Regions from separate parts of the Homo sapiens genome. Here regions 2 and 3 are each linked to region 1. The links are contacts of gene promoters, found by promoter capture Hi-C in human tissues and cell types (Jung and others, 2019). All regions are on one chromosome and are shown on one strand. Each heading gives the region's core, a stretch centred on a gene start or on the middle of the fragment in contact. The rest is flanking DNA. Distances are from core to core; before and after follow the strand shown. Region 1 holds the start of AQP10 (aquaporin 10). Region 2 holds the start of DPM3 (dolichyl-phosphate mannosyltransferase subunit 3, regulatory). Region 3 overlaps DCST2 (DC-STAMP domain containing 2).

Region 1 (3,106 bases), core at 244-2,743:
GAGCCCACAGGGTTACATAAATCATAATGGTAGCCCTCAAGAACTTCATAAACTGTATATGGTATTTTAAAAAGTTGCATATTGTCTGTTTCCACCTACTAGAACATAAGCTCTAGGAGGGCAGAGACTATGTTTTGTTCACCACTGTTTCTCCAGTGTCTAGACGTAGATTCTTTGAATGCATTTAATTGGAGCCTTGAGATATGAAGAAGTAGGATGCGGTTACTTCATGCAGAGCAAGAGTGGCATGCACCCAGAGAAGGCCAGGTGGAGCTCAGCATGAGTGTGAAGGCCTCATGTCAAGCCATGTCAGGGGACACAAAGATGGAGTATTCTCTAACCTATGTGACACTCGGCATAAGGGAAGTACAAGCACTCAATATGTGAGTTTCATTCCCACAGTCTGTGGTCTTTAGCCCAGTCTTTCCAGATGCCTATTGAGTTCTTCAAGCATCCAAATGGTTTGGGGTAAGGCTTCAGGTTCTAAATGAGAGGCTTTGTGGGTTACCAGCTGGAGAGTCAGAAAATCTGGATTTGAATTCACTCAGCCATGAAATAATTGTGTGATCTTGGGCCGGGCACGGTGGCTCACGCTTGTAATCCCAGCACTTTGGGAGGCCAAGGAAGGTGAATCACTAGAGGTCAGGAGTTTGAGACCAGCCTGGCCAACATGGTGAAACCCCGTCTTTTTTTTTTTTTTTTTTTTTGAGACAAAGTCTCGCTCTGTTGCCAGGCTGGAGTGCAGTGGCACAATCTCGGCTCACTGCAACCTCCGCCTCCCTGGTTCAAGTGATTCCCCTGCCTCAGCCTCCCGAGTAGCTGGGACTACAGGCGTGCACCACCACGCTAATTTTTTTGTATTTTAGTAGAGATGGAGTTTCACCATGTTGGCCAGGATAGTCTTGATCTCCTGACCTCGTGATCTGCCTGCCTCGGCCTCCCGAGAAACCAAGTCTTTACTAAAAAATATCAAAATTAGCCAGGTGTGATGGACCTGTAGTCCCATCTACTTGGGAGGCTGAGGCAGGAGAATTGCTTGAACCTGGGAGGTGGAGGTTGCAGTAAGCTGAGATGGTGCCACTGCACTCCAGCCTGGGGGACAGAGCAAGACTCTCTCTCAGAAAAAAAAAAAAAAAAAGTTTGATCTTGGGGAGTTCTAAGGCCCACTAGCCTCATCTGTAGAATGGAAGCAATAGTACTACTTTGCAGAGCTGACTTCAGGACCAAGAGATCTAATGTCTATGAAGCGGGGTACTTCCTTCTATTTGTCAGGATGGGGGAGGCTAGTCCTGTGATGACTGGGAATGAAGGGTAAAAGAGACAGAGGTTGGGTAAACTCCAGGCTCTGTGTTCATAGCCTGCTCCCAGACATTCTCTTGTTATCTCTCTGTTTCCTAGCCTACACACGTGCACAGACACGTAGCTGCTGTTCAGGAACTGAGCTAATGGTTTTAAAGTCTGTTCCTTATCTTTGCTGGAGGCAGGCAGTAGCTGTGCAGTGACAGTGTGCCTATGCAGACAGAGGGAGCAGTGAATAGCAATAGGGTGTTTCCACCATGGTCTTCACTCAGGCCCCGGCTGAAATCATGGGCCACCTCCGGATACGCAGCCTCCTGGCCCGGCAGTGCCTGGCAGAGTTTCTGGGTGTGTTTGTACTCATGGTAGGTAGGATCACTGCGGGAAGGAAAGAAGGGGGTTGGGCAAAAGTTCCTGGCTCCTTCTGTTGTCCTTATCTCTTTCTCTTGGTGTCCCCCTTCCTCTCAACTCCCTATCACTTTTCGTTTTTATCCTCTCGTCTCTCCTAATCTCCTTTCCTCTCCTACTTCATCATTTTTATTCTTGTCATTTTTATTCTTTCTTTAATAACAAGTGTATCATAGTTCTTGAAACATAATTTTTCTCTCTTCAGTTTCCCATTTTTATGAAAGACCATTTTCATGGTAAGACCAATGTGCTTTATTATACTTGGCCTGATGATTGTATAAAGTGCAGCAAGAATAATTATTTTTCACATAGGCTTTTAAAATTGGCTTTGATGGAACTCTTCCATAGAAAGAATCTTAGATAAGACTTTTTAAAGCTGAGCCCTGCCATGGGTTTGTACCCTCAAATGCCTATGAGTTGGGTAAATTCTTTTCTTTTTTCCCACATTCTTTCCCTTTCTTCTTCCTCCACTTTCCCCATTTCTTTTCCCTTCCCTCCTTCTGCTTTTCTCCTTCCCTTGCTTGTCTTCTGTGCTCATTCATCTCCTTGGCTGCTCCCCTGGCCTTCCCAACCTTTCTCCCTGTTGGTCTCCTGGGCTCCCTGTTCCTCATCTCTCCTCTTCTCAGCAGCTCCTCACCCAAGGAGCTGTGGCCCAGGCTGTCACCAGTGGAGAAACCAAAGGCAACTTCTTCACCATGTTTCTGGCTGGCTCTCTGGCCGTTACGATAGCCATCTACGTGGGTGGTAACGTCTCAGGTGAGGAGGGTGGGGTCTGGTCATCAGAGCACGTGGGATGTGCATGCCAGTTTGTCTGTCTGGTGATGGTGGAAACGCAAATCCTTCTGTGACTCGTGGACATTATCCCCTTGAACAGTGTCCCAGACTGAAATAAGCCTTTGGCCCCACCAGCCCCTCCTCTTTCTGTATCTCTCCATCCTGCTTCCTCACACTAATGCTTGGCTCACCTAGACAGAAATCAATGGCAGGGCACGAAGGGCAGCTGCTATCCTCTTGTATCCCCCACCTGAAGTCCTCTGGGGGCTCATCTCCACTCAGGACCTCTCCTGTTTGTACCCCAGATACACACTGCATCGGTGTGCTTGGGTGGAGCCTTGAGACATAGTGTGTTGCTGTGGAAAAAGCAGACAGACCTAGGTTCCAACTTTGGATTCACAGTGTCTTCTTCTTTTTTTTTTTTTTTTTTCTTTTTTTTTGAGATGGAGTTTCACTCTGTTGCCCAGGCTGGAGAGCAGTGGTGTGATGTCTGTTCACTGCAACCTCTGCCCCTGGGTTCACGCGATTCTCCTGCCTCAGCATCCCGAATAGCTGATTTTACAGGCACCTGCTACCACGCCTGGCTAATATTTGTGTTTTTAGTGGAAACGGGGTTTCACCATGTTGG
Region 2 (3,106 bases), core at 432-2,931, 820 kb after region 1:
TGCCCACGATGGTTCATTCTCTACTCATAATTCTAAACCTGCCTGGTTTGGTGAAGGATAGATCCACAGTTATTCTCAGGTTGGTAGGGTAGGCTCAGAAAAGGTATCTCAAAGAACCAAAAGGTTGGAAAGACCCAGGAAGGCCTTAAAAATAACAAAACTTGGATGTTATGAAGAATGGAACTTAGGCTTCAAGAAAGTACTTCTGGCCGGGTAAGGTGGCTTATGTCTGTAATCACAGCACTTTGGGAGGCCCAGGCAGGAGGATCACTTGAGCCCAGGAGTTTGAGAACAGCCTGAGCAACACAGCGAGACCCTGTCACTACAAAAAATTAAACATTAGCCTGGTGGCGTGGTGGCATATGCCTGTAGTCCCAGCTACTCTGGAGGCTGAGGTGGGAGAACTGTTTGAGCCTGGGAGGGTGAGGCTGCAGTGAGCCATGATTGCACCACTGCACTCCAGCCTGGGCAACAGAGTGAGACCCTGTCTCAAAAAAAAAAAAAAAAAGAAGTAGTACGCCGGGCGCGGTGACTCACACCTGTAATCCCAGCACTTTGGGAGGCCGAGGCGGGCGGATTACGAGGTCAGGAGATCAGACCATCCTGGCCAACACGGTGAAACCCCGACTCTACTAAAAATACAAAAAATTAGCCAGGCGTGGTGGCAGGCGCCTGTAGTCCCAGCTACTCAGGAGGCTGAGGCAGGAGAATGGCGTGAACCCGGGAGGCGGAGCTTGCAGTGAGCCGAGATCACGCCACTGCACTCCAGCCTGGACGACAGAGCAAGGCTCCGTCTCAAAAAAAAAAAAAAAGAAGTACTTCCTACAGGGTTGAAAGGACCAGGAAAGTGAAATGTCATTTCCATCCTGAGAAATATTGAGAAGGGGTCTTTGCCTCCTTGGGAGCAAAAATGGGAACACCAGCAAGATGCAAAGATAAAGGCTGAGATGGCCTCAAGAAGGTGGTTCTTTCACATTCACTTCTCGACCGTTAGTACATAGAATCCCCAATACCCGTTTTCCATACTCAAACTAAACGAAGTTAGAAAATAAACTGGCTCTTTAATGGGAAATGGGAGGAAGGGCTGTCCGCACAGGAATGGGGTTAGGCTGTCAGAAGCGCAGCCCCCTGCGGGCTAAGTCGGCTCGGGCCTCCTGTATCTGGCTCTGCAGCTCGCGTGCGGCGTCCTCGCAGTCATGAAAAGTGGCCACACGATAGCCCACAGTGCCCAGGGCATAGCAGCCGGCGGACACCAGCAAGTAGGCGGGCAGTGGCCACAGGACTTCCTGGCAGGACAAGGGCAGCTCCAGGCCCAAGGCTCCCGTGGTCAGGGCCACCCAGGTGGAGCCCAGGATCGCTAGTCCCCAAAGCCACTGCGCTAATTTCGTCATGGTCACTGCGAGAGAAGGAAGCAATGCTCCCCTGAGGAGCAGAAAGGAAAAGCGGACCAAACTCAACCGAAGCCCGCCCACGGAGAGCATTAAAACCAGCCCTGGCCAGAGGGGAATCGCCGATCCCAGAGGTCCGAACTTGAGTGCCCACAAAAGGTGGAAGGGCCCCTTCCACCTTGCTACCCCCTCTATATTTGAGACCCACTCCCCATCTCTCGCCCTCCCCATTCAGCCTTCAACCTACACTTACCTCTACCCCACGTCTCCCCTTCCCCGCGCGGCCCGGATGTTGGCGTCCGGAAGTCCTCCCTGGTTCACGTTCCGCTTCCGCGCGGCCTTCTGGGAGTTGTAGTTCACATGGCGGCGCCTGGTGTACTCCTGGCCAGCGCCTCAATCTAGGCGGGGGTACAGTGGGCTGTGCTCCGCAAACGGGGAGCAGGCCGGGTCTGGAGAGGCCTCGGCGCTGCTTTCCCACCTTGGGCTACGCTCCAGGCTGGCGTGGGGCTTGAGGACATCCTTAAATGTTGCAACAAGATGGGAATATAATACCATTCCCCTTAAACTCAATTCTCCAGCGCTGAAATCCATTCCTTCATTCACTAGTTCATTCATTCGAAGATTTCTTTCTTTCCATTCTTGACAGGGTCTCTCTATAGTGCCTAGGCGGGACAGAACTCCTTTTTTTTTTTTTTTTTTTTTTTTTTTTTTTTGAGACAAAGTCTCGCTCTGTTGCCCATGCTGGAGTACAGTGGCTCGATCTCAGCTCACTGCAACCTCTGTCTCCCGAGCAGCTGGGATTACAGGCGCGCGCCACCACGCCGGGCTAATTTTTTTATTTTTAGCAGAGAACGGGGATTTCACTATGTTGGCCAGGCTGGTCTCAAACTCCTGACCTCAAGTGACTGGCCCACCTCAGCCTTCCAAAGTGCTAGGATTACAGGCATGAGCCACAGCGCCCGGCCAGAACATTTCTTGATTACCATGATAGACTTTGGAGATACAGAGATGTCAAGAGACTCGACCCCTTTCAGGTGGAGGGGGAAAGCAGGAGTCAGTGAAGCAGTTGCATTGACAACTAACCATGAAGGCTTGAGATTATTGTTAGAACAGAGGTAGTCATATTTTTACAAGGACAACAACCAATATAACTTGGAGCCAGAGGAAGAAGGGCTCCAGGAGTCTGGGTTTCAAAAAAAAAGAAAAGAAAAGAAAGACCAGAAGAATTACCTGAAGTGGTGAAGGCATTGAAAGAAAGAGTATAATTCTTTAGAACAGTTTTGGGGATGAATTTATTATGTATAGAGAGAAAGAGAGAGAGAGAACAAAGTAAGAGAAAAGGTTAGGCAATTATCAACTTCAGAGGAAACAAAGAGTTATATAAGAAAGGAAAGACAATTGATAAGCCTGTCTTATAAAGACCACATCTGTAGTTTGACAGTTAGGTTTATTAACTTGCCACAACAGAGAGATCACACACTAGAAGAACTGTGGGGCAACTCATTAAAAAGGAAGAAATATGGTCATTCAGATGATATGGTTTGGCTGTGTCCCCACCCAAATTTCAAGTTGATGTGTATCTCCCAGAATTCCCACGTGCGAGGGACCTAAGGGGAGGTAATTGAATCACGGGGGCCAGACTTTCCCGTGCTATTTTCATGATAGTGAATAAGTCTCACAAGATCTGATGAGTTCATCAGGGGTTTCTGCTTTTGCTT
Region 3 (3,106 bases), core at 182-2,681, 700 kb after region 1:
TCTGTGGGGCTCAGGGCTGGTGAGAATGCTGACAGGCTGATGGGCTTCAGGTAAGGGCTGCTGCCCGTGCTTCCTCTGCTGAGGCCCCTTCTCCTCATCCAGGTCACTAGTGAGGAGAGGAAGGGGGTGGCCGGATCACCCACCTTCTGTCTTCACAGGTGCATCCCTGCCCCCTGCCCTGCCCCATCTGTTCAGATCCAGCTCCTGTTCTTTCTGAGCAACTCCTGCTCTCTCAGGCCCACGAGGCGTACCAGCCCATGGCTGTAGATATTTTCTGATTTTAGGCTGATGCTGGGGGGTGGGCAGTGACTTGCCTGAGGCCACATGGCTAGGAAGGGCAGAATCACTAGTGACCTCAGTAGTCACACCTGCTCAAGGCTCAAGCTGTCCCCTCTGCTGACCCAGCTTATCCTTTCACTGGGCCCTCTAGAACCTCTGAAAAGAAAGCTTTGCTTCCCCTTCAACCTCTTGACTCATCATGACCTCTACCGCCCCATTCACACTGGAATGTGCCCACTGGACAGTTTTCTTTGCAGTCCTCCCAAGAGGAGGCAGCTTAACCTTCTCAAACCCAGCTGGCCCGTAGTGTTTTTTTGCAAAGCCCCTGGCTGCCATGATAGCTGTACCACCAGTGCTGTGGCTGTCTCCTCAGGCCTGCCAGACACCTGCCACATCTGTTTAAGATGCCGGCTCTGGACTCCTGCTGTTTGTATGGTCCTGCAACCTCGTCGCTAGAGGACCCACCCAATTCTCTGGCCTCTCAATCCCTAACCTCCTTGGTTCTATTGACCGTCATCTCTGTTCCCACTCAGACGTCTTCCTCAGCCTTGGCCTTTCACTGGATTCATTCCAGAGTTCTTCCCTGGCCATGGCCCCCTCTCTGAGTCCCTCCTGTTCAGCCAGCTCTCCCTCCTGGCCACTGCCCCTGCTCTAACACGTCATCAAGACAGAGACCCTGGGCTGCCCCCAGGGGCCTTAGCCCCTCCTCTTCCCCAGTCATCTCAGACACTCTTACCAAAGACACCTCAATTCTCACTCCATCTTGTCCTCCTGACCTGCCCAGAAAAAGCCCTCCACCTGTGAATCCTATTCATGGCTACCACATTTGCCAGAGAAAATCACATAACTGAGCGCACTGGAGCAATCATTACAAGTTACAGCTTCCAGCATCATCTGGGCCTTTGACGCTACCTGGAAATCCCTTAACCTCCCTAGTCGGCTTCTTTGCACACTTGCCACGGCAGGTCTTTCAACCTCTACCACCCACTCCTTGAAACCTTTATTCCACTCCCAGCTGCCTGCTCTGCTCTCTCAGCAGGTGCTCTTGCCTCCTACTCCCCAAAGAGAAGCGAGGCCACCAGGCTGGAGTGGGCTCAGCTGCTCAGGGGAACCTATACTCTCCCCCTCTGCCTCTGCCAGCCTGCTCCTTTCTCAGGCAGGCCACCTGGTCCACCTGGCCCTGGAGCCCAAACCTCCCTCCCCAACGTGCTTTTACACTGCCTAAATGCTCAAATCTTCCTGTTCTTAGATCTAGAAAACCCTTTTAGTGCTGAATCCCCTTCAAGCTACTTTCTTGCTCTGTGAAGCTAACTCTCTCTTTCTCTTCACCATCAAGCTTACATTTTTTTCAAACTACAGCACTCATTAGATTAAAAGCATTATCAAACTCCTGGCAACAGTGATGCAGGAGCCACATACCATATTTCTGAGTCCTTTTATTATTTATTTATTTTGAGACAGAGTCTTGCTCTGTCGCCCAGGCTGGAGTGCAGTGGCACGATCTCGGCTCACTGCAACTTCCGCCTCCCGCGTTCAAGTGATTCTTCTGCCTCAGCCTCCCAAGTAGCTGGGATTACAGGCGCCTGCCACCATGCCTAATTTTTTGTATTTTTAGTAGAGACAAGGTTTTACCATGTTGGCCAGGCTGGTTTCAAACTCCTGACCTCAAGTGATCTGCCCGCCTCAGCCTCCCAAAGTGCTAGGATTACAGGCGTGAGCCACCACACCCAGCCTTTCTGAGTCTTCTTTACCTGACACCCCTCAACCCATCATGACAGATCCAGTTTTGGTCTTCCCGATGCCATGAAAAATATTCCCACAAGCTACTCCAGTGATGTCTTAACTGCCTGTCACCTGTCTTCACATGATCCTACTTGATTTTTTTTTTTTTAATCTTCTAATTTTTTGAGACTGGGTCTTGTACTATTGCCCAGGCTGGAGTGCAGTGGTGCAATCTTGGCTCACCGCAGTCTCAGCCTCCCTGGCTCAAGTGATCCCTCCCACCTTAGCCTCCTGAAAGCTGGGACTAAAGATGCACGCCACCATGCCCAGCTAATTTTTGTATTATTACCTATTTATTTATTGAGACCAATCCTCCCTCTGTCACCCAGGCTAAAATGCGGTGGCACAATCTTAGCTCCCTGCAACCTCCACCTCCCAGGTTCAATCAATTCTCCTGCCTTAGCCTCCTGAGTAGCTGGGACTAACAGGTGCGTGCCACCACTCCTGGCTAATTTTTGTATTTTTAGTAGAGATGGGGTTTCACTATGTTAGCCAGGCTGGTCTCGAACTCCTGACCTTAAGTGGTCCTCCCGCCTCAGCCTCCCAAAGTGCTGGGATTACAGGCGTGAGCCACCATGCCCTGGCAAGTTTTTGTATTTTTAGTAGAGATGGAGTTTTGCCATGTTGCCCAGGCTGGTCTCGAACTCCTGGACTCAAGTGATCGGCCCACCTCGGCCTCCCAAATTGCTGAAATTACAGGTGTGAGCCACTGTGCCCATCCCCCTACTTGATTTCATATGTTTGGCTCTCCTGCTTTCTTGAGCCTCTCCCCTCCCTGTCCCCTCCCACTCTCCTGCCATGCCCTCTGCCAGGATGATCTAGCTCATCCTCTCTCTTACAGTCTCTAACTTAACCCCCCAAAAATATACCTCCAGCCCGGATCCCTGCCCTTTTCTAACTGCCCCCCTGGGCATCTCCAGCTGGATGCCCTACAGACACCTCAAAGATCTCAAACTGGGCCAGTCGTCTTTCCCCAGAACCTGTTTATCTTCCTGCCCTAACACCTGCCCAGGCCCAAGCATAGAAATCCCAGTCACGCTCAGCA

The links. Contacts are between HindIII fragments. The study calls those that stand out against the background at their distance.
Region 2: the fragment with the promoter of DPM3 here is called in contact with the fragment with the promoter of AQP10 in region 1 in 1 of the 25 tissues and cell types used here (neural progenitor cells).
Region 3: a fragment that was not itself captured here is called in contact with the fragment with the promoter of AQP10 in region 1 in 1 of the 25 tissues and cell types used here (dorsolateral prefrontal cortex).

Annotation. Positions count from the first base shown.
Region 1 is chr1:154,319,600-154,322,705 of GRCh38, forward strand. AQP10 (aquaporin 10) reads left to right here and starts at 1,494. Exons shown (of 6, transcript NM_080429.3): 1 at 1,494-1,661; 2 at 2,334-2,460. The coding sequence starts at 1,557. RefSeq lists a silencer at 1,273-1,464. The HindIII fragment of the contact is 14,849 bases long and covers 1-3,106 here.
Region 2 is chr1:155,138,850-155,141,955 of GRCh38, forward strand. It overlaps DPM3 (dolichyl-phosphate mannosyltransferase subunit 3, regulatory), which reads right to left and starts at 1,682. Exons shown (of 2, transcript NM_153741.2): 1 at 1,642-1,682; 2 at 1,042-1,396. The coding sequence starts at 1,391. The coding sequence ends at 1,113. SLC50A1 (solute carrier family 50 member 1) reads left to right here. Exons shown (of 6, transcript NM_018845.4): 6 at 1-4. RefSeq lists enhancers at 1,622-1,751, 1,922-1,981. The HindIII fragment of the contact is 27,453 bases long and covers 1-3,106 here.
Region 3 is chr1:155,018,655-155,021,760 of GRCh38, forward strand. DCST2 (DC-STAMP domain containing 2) reads right to left here. Exons shown (of 15, transcript NM_144622.3): 15 at 1-106. Among named protein-coding and RNA genes, the nearest start is that of DCST2, 14 kb to the right of the region's middle. The HindIII fragment of the contact is 3,850 bases long and covers 1-3,106 here.